3 separate regions of the Homo sapiens genome follow, and regions 1 and 2 are each linked to region 3. The links are contacts of gene promoters, found by promoter capture Hi-C in blood cells and fetal thymus (Javierre and others, 2016). All regions are on one chromosome and are shown on one strand. Each heading gives the region's core, a stretch centred on a gene start or on the middle of the fragment in contact. The rest is flanking DNA. Distances are from core to core; before and after follow the strand shown.

Region 1 (2,700 bases), core at 15-2,514, 560 kb before region 3:
AGATTAAGATGAGATTTTATTTTTCTTTTTTTCCTTAAAAAGAAAAAAAGGCTAGGCGAGGTGGCTCATGTCTGTAATCCAAAGGCTAGGTGAGGTGGCTCATGTCTGTAATCCCAGAACTTTGGGAGGCCGAGGTAGGTGGATCATTTGAGGTCAGGCGTTTGAGACCAGCTTGGCCAACGTGGTGAAATCCTTGTCTCTACTAAAAATACGAAAATTAGCTGGGCGTGGTGGTGCACACCTGTAATCCCAGCTACTGGAGAGGCTGAGGCGGGAGAATCGCTTGAATCTGGGAGGTGGAGGTTGCAGTGAGCTGAGAAGCCGAGACCACGCCACTACACTCCAGCCTGGGTGACAGAGTAAGACTCCGTCTCAAAAAAAAAAAAAAAAACAAATTCTTCCTGGGCTTTCTTAAAGCTGGGGTGTGTGTGAAGCGAAGCTGAGGAAGTTCAATTGTTCTCCCACTAAGTTCTCTTTCCTGGAACAAAGAGGACCTGCAAAGAGAGTGAGAGGACTGCTGGCATCTTGAAATATTCTTCTACTCTCCTTTGTCCTCTTTTCCTTGGGTGAGGCATGCAGAGACTCCTCTTGGTTTGTTATTTGCTCATTTATTTGTTCATTCATTTGCTTATTCATTCAAAAGCTAGTAAGAGAAGATTGTTAAATTTGAAAATTTTGCTTCCCAGAATTAAACCATTTTAAATCAACCATGACAGCAGTATTTATACCTTGGATATTGGCAAATGCTATAGGTTATTAAATAAAATAAAATAACATTTTATTTACAATTTAATAAAAATTACAATTTCAAATTTTTGTCTTTAAAAAAGAAAATAACAACCTGCTGTTTATGTGTTGGAATTGTGTTATGTATCAGGGCATAAGAGTGAACAAGATAGTCCAGTCTCTGCTCAAAGGGAGCTTACAGTCTGGTGCTGCACTGTCCTGTCCAATCTGGTAGCCATTAGCTACTAGCTACTGCTGTGGTTATTAATTTATTTTTTAAAGTTTTTAATTTTGGCTGAGTCTGGTGGCTCATGCCTGTAATCCCAGCGCTTTGGGAGGCCGAGGCAGGTGGATCACCTGAGGTTAGGAGTTCGAGACCAGTCTGGCCAACATGGCGAAACCCCGTCTCTACTCCAAATCCAAAAAAAAAAAAAAAAAAAAAAAATTAGCCAGGTGTGGTGGTGGGCGCCTGTAATCCCAACTACTCGGAAGACTGAGGCAGGAGAATCACTTGAACCTGGGAGGCGGAGGTTGCAGTGAGCCGAGATTGAGCCAGTGCACTCCAGCCTGGGCAACAAGAGTGAAACTCTGTCTCAAAAAAAAAAAAGTTTTTAATTTTTGTGGGTACCCAGTATGTGTATCTATTTTAGGGTACACGAGATATTTTGATACAGGCATACAATGCATAATAATCTCATCAGGGCATCCATCACTTCAAGCATTTATCCTTTATGTTACAAACAATCCAATTATACTCTTTTAGTTATTTTTAAATGTACAATAATTTATTTTTTTTGAGACGGAGTCTTGCTCCATTGCCCAGGCTGGAGTGCAATGGCATGATCTTGGCTCACTGCAACCTCTGCCTCTCGGGTTCAAGCAATTCCCCTGCCTCAGCCTCCCGAGTAGCTGGGATTACAGGCATGCACCACCATGCCTGGCTAATTTTTGTATTTTTAGTAGAGACGGGGTTTTACCATGTTGGTCAGGCACGTCTTGAACTCCTGTCCTTGTGATCTGCCCGCCTCAGCCTTCCAAAGTGCTGGGATTACAGGCATGAGCCACTGCACCCAGCCTTAGGCTGGTGCTTTTTAAACTTTTTTTGCTTCTGGGGAGTGGGTGATAGGGAAAGTTCTGCCAGCCTGGGAGGGGCCCACTAGAGCCTGCTGCTCCAGTGTGGATTGTGGGGAGAGGAAAAGGAACTGTGTGCTTTGGGCCCAGATCACTGGAGTGCCCTGAGTCTCTGAGAAGTTTACCCTACATCCCTCCTGTGGCAGCACCATCCACTTCACCAGGATCTGACCAGGGCCTTCAGGGGGACACAGCCTCCCCGGATCTGAGCATCACTATCATTCTAATTCCTTGGGCTGTTTCTGTGTAGATAATTATTTTCCAGCTCATTCAGGCAGGTGAGGTTGAGGCCAGCAGTGCAGCTAAATCCTTACACCGTGACTGGGGCTGCTTTTATACAGGTTAGGGGAAGAATAATCACTTATGGCTGAAATCTAATGGAAGAGGGAGTTCTGTGTAACTCTAGTGGGCAGAGCTGAGTTTAGAAGGTTAGTAGGAGGCAGATTTCAGCCCAGTAGAAGGAACAATAATGTTCCAGTAATTATACAATTATTATCCAACAGGGGCTATACTGTCATAAATTCTTCAAACGGAGGCCAGATGTTAGGAAGGCCACAAAGAGGATTCCTACTGGGAGAGGCCAAACTTGAACCATCTGTTTATTTATTTTATTTTATTTATTTATTTTTTTGAGAATGGAGTTTCACTCTTGTCACCCAGGCTGGAGTGCAATGGCACAAACTTGGCTCACTGCAACCTCCGCCTCCCGGGTTCAGGTGATTCTTTTGCCTCAGCCTCCCAAGTAGCTAGGATTACAGGCATGCACCACCACGCCTGGCTAATTTTGTATTTTTAGTAGAGACGGGGTTTCTCTATGTTGGTCAGGCTGGTCTCGAACTCTTG
Region 2 (2,700 bases), core at 160-2,659, 580 kb before region 3:
TTCCCTTCTCCTCCGTCCCCATGAACTCCGCTCTAACTATGACTTTCCTTTCCCCTCTGTGCTGCTTCAGGAATTGTCCCACTTGAGTTCATCTCCGCCCATCCACCTAGCACATAGTTCCTGGATAAATCTCCCTGAAAGAGCGCTCTTACTGTGTCACCACATCTCTTTCCAAGGCCCTACTCTCCAGCATTGAAAGCTCTGCATGAACTGCCCTCAGCTTGCTTTTCCTACTATATCTGTCACCTCAACTTCTGCCTGGCCCGGAGCGGACGCTGGGCTTTTCCATGTTACTCATCATTCTCTTCATCTGGAATGCCTGCTCCCTCTTAGTCTTGCCAAATCCTTTGCAGGAGAAGCCCCTCCTACTTCAAGACATCTTCCCAAGACATCCTGTTGGCCTGGTCTCCCATTTAGTTGTGTATTTGGCTTATTTTATCCAGGTGGTATTTTATACACAGTTTTTTTCCTCTTCTTCAGGGCCTTGTAACATGTAAACCTCATTTCTGTTTTGGTTTTTTTTTGTTGTTTGTTTTTGTGTGTGTGTGTGTGTGTGTTTTTTTTTTGAGACGGAGTCTCGCTCTGTTGCCCAGGCTGAGGTGAAGTGGTGCGACCTTGGCTCACTGCAACCTCCACCTCCTGGGTTCAAGCAATTCTCCTGCCTCAGCCTCCTGAGTAGCTGAGACTACAGGTGTGTACCACCATGCCTGGCTAATTTTTGTATTTCTAGTAGCAATGGGGTTTCGCCATGTTGGTCAGGCTGGTCACAAACTCCTGACCTCAGGTGATCCACTTACCTCGTCCTCCTAAAGTGCTGGGATTACAGGCATGAGCCACCACGTCCAGCAGTTTTTGTTGTTTTTTAGAGTCAGAGTCTTGCTCTGTTGCCCACACTAGGGTGCAGTGGTGCAATCATGGCTTACTGCAACCTTGAACTCCTGGGCTCAAGCAATCCTCCTGCCTCAGCCTCCTGAGTAGCTGGACTACAGGCATGCACCACCACACCCAGTTAACTTCTAAAATTTTTTGTATAGATGGGTGTCTTGCTATGTTGCCCAGGCTGATCTCAAACTCCTGGCCTCAAGTGATCCTTCTGCCTTGGTCTCTCAGAGTGCTGGGATTACAGGTGTGAGCCACTGCACCCAGCCTAAACCTGTTTTTTTAATGTTCTTCTACTTTTTTTTTTTTTTTTGAGACAGAGTCTTGCTCTGTCACTGGGCTGGAGTGCAGTGGTGTGATCTCAGCTCACTGCAACCTCTGCCTCCCGGGTTCAAGCAATTCTCCTGCCTCAGCCTCCTGAGTAGCTGGAACTACAGGCGTGTGCCACCACGCCCAGCTAATTTTTGTATTCTTAGTGGAGATGGGGTTTCACCATGTTGGCCAGGATGGTCTCGATCTCTTGACTTCGTGATCCGCCTGCCTCGGCCTCCCAGAGTGCTGGGATTACAGGCATGAGCCACCACGCCCGGTCGTTTTGTTTATTTTTCTAATGAAGATTTCTGCTTGGGGAGTTCAGGTGGGGCTTTTTCTTGAGTAAATCCAACCACCTCTACCAAAGACTCTGTAGTTCCCACTTCCTGGGTTGGAGATTGTTAGTCAAAGGAGGAACTGGTGAGGACTTTGGCTAGAAATTTCCCACGTGGTATTTCAAAACCAAACCCAATTCTGGACCCAGACAGGAGAGCAGTTTGGGGTTGCTTATTAGGACAGGCTTGTTTGACACTAGCATACTAAAGTTCTCCTTCTTTTCCTTCTTACTTTCCAGTTCAGACTTTTGAATGATGGGGTATGTTTGAGAAGCAACTAAAAACCCAACCTCTGCCCCTTGGGAGTTTATTACAAATTTATAGTTAGTTGTATTTTCTTGGCAGGTATTGATAAGAAAGTAATTCACCTGATTAATGTTTTTATTGTATATCTGTGGATAAATGAGTAATGAATATATAAATAGTGGAGTATTATCTAATAGACAAATCAAAGGTAAATGTAATAGAGGAAGGAGCTATGGATAAACTCATCACAGAGCTGGGTCAAGTTACACTTTCTCCCACCTTGATCTTGTGTCTGTCTTAGTCAGTTCTGCTGTAACAAATTACTATAGACAGGGTGGCTTAAACAACAAACATTTCTTTTTTGTTTTTGAGACGGAGTCTCACTCTGTCGCCCAGGCTGGAGTGCAGTGGCTGGTGCAATCTCGACTCACTGCAACCTCCACTTCCCAGGTTCAAGCAATTCTCCTGCCTCAGCCCTCCGGAGTAGCTGGGACTACAGGGACCCACCACCACACCTGGCTCATTTTTATATTTTTAGACGGGGTTTCACCAGGTTTGCCAGGCTACTCTCGAACTCCTGACCTCAGGTGATCTCAGGTGATCCACTCACCTCGGCCTCCAAAAGTGCTGGGATTACAGGCGTGAGCCACCGCGCCCGGCCAACAACAAACATCTCTTTCTTTCTTTTTTTTTTTCTGAGACACAGTTTCGCTCTTGTCACCCAGGCTGGAGTGCAATGGCATGATCTCAGCTCACTGCAACCTCCGCTTCCTGGGTTCAAGTAATTCTCCTGCCTCAGTCTCCCAAGTAGCTGGGATTACAGGCATGTACCACCATGCTTAGCTAATTTTTGTATTTTTGTATTTTTTTTTGATGGAGTCTCGCTCTGTTGCCCAGGCCGGAGTGCAGTGGCACGATCTTGGCTCAC
Region 3 (2,700 bases), core at 159-2,658:
CAGTCTCCTAATCCACAGGTTGGAAGGCTGACGGACAGGGACAACAGAACATTTATGGGCAGCAGATTCCCAATTCCTCACCTGGGCTTCCCTGCTGTGGAGCAGCATGGCAGGGTGAAGTCAAAAGGAACAGGATGGACTCCCAGCTGATCAGCCACAAGCTGTGTGACTTGGGGATGTTGCTCTTAACTGCTGTGCTTCCCATTTTCCTGTCTGTGGCATAGTAACTATCTCATTGTGTGGTCAGAGAATTAAATGAGACCATGGATGTAAAGAGTACGGAGTGGTCCCAACACACAATAAATGCCCAATAAATGTTTATTATTGTTATTATTATTATTATTGGTTTGATTTTGACCTGGTGATAAGTCTCAGTGTGGAAGGGAAAGGCCATTCGGCCATGGCAAAAGTTTCACTGATGAAATTGATGGAAAAGAGGAGGAAAGAGAGTGAGGCGGGGGCTTCAGACATCTCCAAAGAGCTGTGTCTGCGACCTGAGCTGGAAAGAAAACCTGAATCCCACCTCCACCTGAAAATTCCCAAGGGCAACAACTCTCCCCAGAGACATCCTCAGGCCAAAGCTGGCTCTGTTGACCTCAGGGACACTCAGGCTGGGTTGGGCAAAAGGGGAAAGGAACAGCCACATGGAAGCCGAGACCTGATGCTGAAATCATGCCTTCTGGGGGCCCCAGAAGTGTTGAGGAGAGCGTCCCTTCCTCTGCCCTTCTCAAGCACCAGGCCTCTCCTCTTGAGTTCCCTGCAGCCTTTGTGGACTGATGGGCCCTGTAGAAAAGTGTCTATGCCTGGAGTCTGTCTACCTTCAAGACCCTCATGGGACAGTGGGTCACTGAGCCAGAGCTCAGGAGGGTTAAGGTCCGGCCTGTTGTAGGGAGGATTCTCCCACCCCAAAAGCCTTCCTCCTGGGAACTTCCTGACTCACCTAGGAGCCCACAGAGGGCACTTGGGTTGAGGATCTGCAAAAAAGCCTAGGAGCAGCCTTGGGGAAAGAGCCAGAGCATCTTTAAGCATATGGGACTTGCCCTCTAATCCCAGAGAAGCCAGGGTGTATAATTCATGGCACGCCTCCCCTCCTATGAAATGACGTAGTCCCAACTCTCCCTTTCCTTGAGGCTGAGCCACTGGATACATGGAACATATCTGTCTGGTTGGCCCCTTTCATCACCCCCACAATCAAGGAAGGAGGACAAATAGGATTTTTATAGGGCCCACCAGCACTGACCATTGGCCCCTTCTCTTTGCTCTTCGCTACCCTAATTATCCACCTTGCTACTTAGCTCTGCCAATATCCCAAGCTCATAAACCTAGTTTAATGGTGATTTGGGGTTTGACACATCTCAGTCCTCCATCCCCCTACCAGATAAAAGGGGGGAAGCTGAGCCTGACTTGATCATCCTGCCCCGGTTCTTTCCTCCAGGGCCGCATTTCTCTGCCTCTCTCTCCTGCCATGTCGTACCACTCTTTCCAGCCAGGCTCCAGGTGTGGCAGTCAGAGTTTCAGCTCATACTCGGCTGTCATGCCCCGGATGGTCACCCACTATGCAGTGAGCAAGGGGCCATGCCGGCCCGGGGGTGGTAGGGGCCTCCGAGCTCTGGGCTGCCTTGGCTCACGGAGCCTGTGCAACGTGGGCTTTGGGAGGCCCCGGGTAGCCTCCAGGTGTGGAGGTACCCTGCCTGGCTTCGGGTACCGACTGGGAGCCACCTGTGGGCCTTCTGCCTGCATCACCCCTGTCACCATCAATGAGAGCCTGCTGGTCCCACTGGCACTGGAGATAGACCCGACTGTGCAGAGGGTAAAGAGGGATGAGAAGGAGCAGATCAAGTGCCTCAACAACCGTTTCGCATCTTTCATCAACAAGGTAAGGGGGCAGTGGCCCAGGGCCGTGAGAGGACCCACTGCAGATCTGGGGTCTGGTCTTGTTCTGGTCCAAGGGAACCAGGAGGAGACTGACATTGAGGAGGCCTCAGTTTATCCAGTGGCCTCCCTCACATTCCACGACCACCAGCCTTTGAAAGCCAGTTAGATCAGATTCTGCACTAAACATTTCTGCTTCCTTGTCTTTCTTAAAATATATCATCTTTCTCTGAATATTATCTGACAAAATCACCAATCACCAAGGTTGCCTGAGGTCAGACTATAAGAGGAACTTCCAAAGCAATACTGAAAGGAATGACCAGAGAGGCAGAGAAATGCCCTTCCTGATGAGGCTTTAACAGTAGAACCGCCTTCTGTGTGCCTGAGCTGTGTCACAACTCTTGAGCCTGAAGGTGAGGATGGACACTGTGACCTCAGAGTTTCCAATCATTTTAGGCCTGGGATGAGAGGAAAGTGGACAGTCAGAGCTAGAGGCACAGGGTGACGGTCACAAAAGTCTTACATCTGTCATCTCCAGAGCCACTGAAAGGCTGCTAGGAAGGCATGCCTTCAGAAGGTGCTGAACTGAATCTGCACCCACTGCAGGAACAGTGCAGATTCCCACATCTACAGCACAGCACCCACTGCAGGAACAGTGCAGATTCCCACATCTACAGTATAGCACCCACTGCAGGAAGAGCGCAGATTCCCACATCTACAGTACAGCACCCACTGCAGGAAAAGATGTGGCATGCCTTCTGAAGGTGCTGAAGGACTCAACAGCCTCTGGGTCCATCCCACGCCCCAGGGAGGCTCTTGGGGTGAGGA

The links. Contacts are between HindIII fragments. The CHiCAGO score rates a contact against its expected background, and 5 or more counts as called.
Region 1: a fragment that was not itself captured here is called in contact with the fragment with the promoter of KRT82 in region 3 in 7 of 17 cell types (M2 macrophages, M1 macrophages, M0 macrophages and 4 more); the score reaches 10.4 in M2 macrophages.
Region 2: a contact is called between a fragment that was not itself captured here and the fragment with the promoter of KRT82 in region 3, in 3 of 17 cell types (M2 macrophages, M0 macrophages and naive CD8 T cells). The highest score is 6.1, in M2 macrophages.

The regions. Positions count from the first base shown.
Region 1 is chr12:52,967,126-52,969,825 of GRCh38, reverse strand. No RefSeq gene overlaps it. Among named protein-coding and RNA genes, the nearest start is that of KRT18, 19 kb to the right of the region's middle. The HindIII fragment of the contact is 7,174 bases long and covers 1-2,700 here.
Region 2 is chr12:52,988,006-52,990,705 of GRCh38, reverse strand. No RefSeq gene overlaps it. Among named protein-coding and RNA genes, the nearest start is that of EIF4B, 17 kb to the left of the region's middle. The HindIII fragment of the contact is 7,088 bases long and covers 1-2,700 here.
Region 3 is chr12:52,405,043-52,407,742 of GRCh38, reverse strand. KRT82 (keratin 82) reads left to right here and starts at 1,408. Exons shown (of 9, transcript NM_033033.4): 1 at 1,408-1,876. The coding sequence starts at 1,466. The HindIII fragment of the contact is 6,676 bases long and covers 1-2,700 here.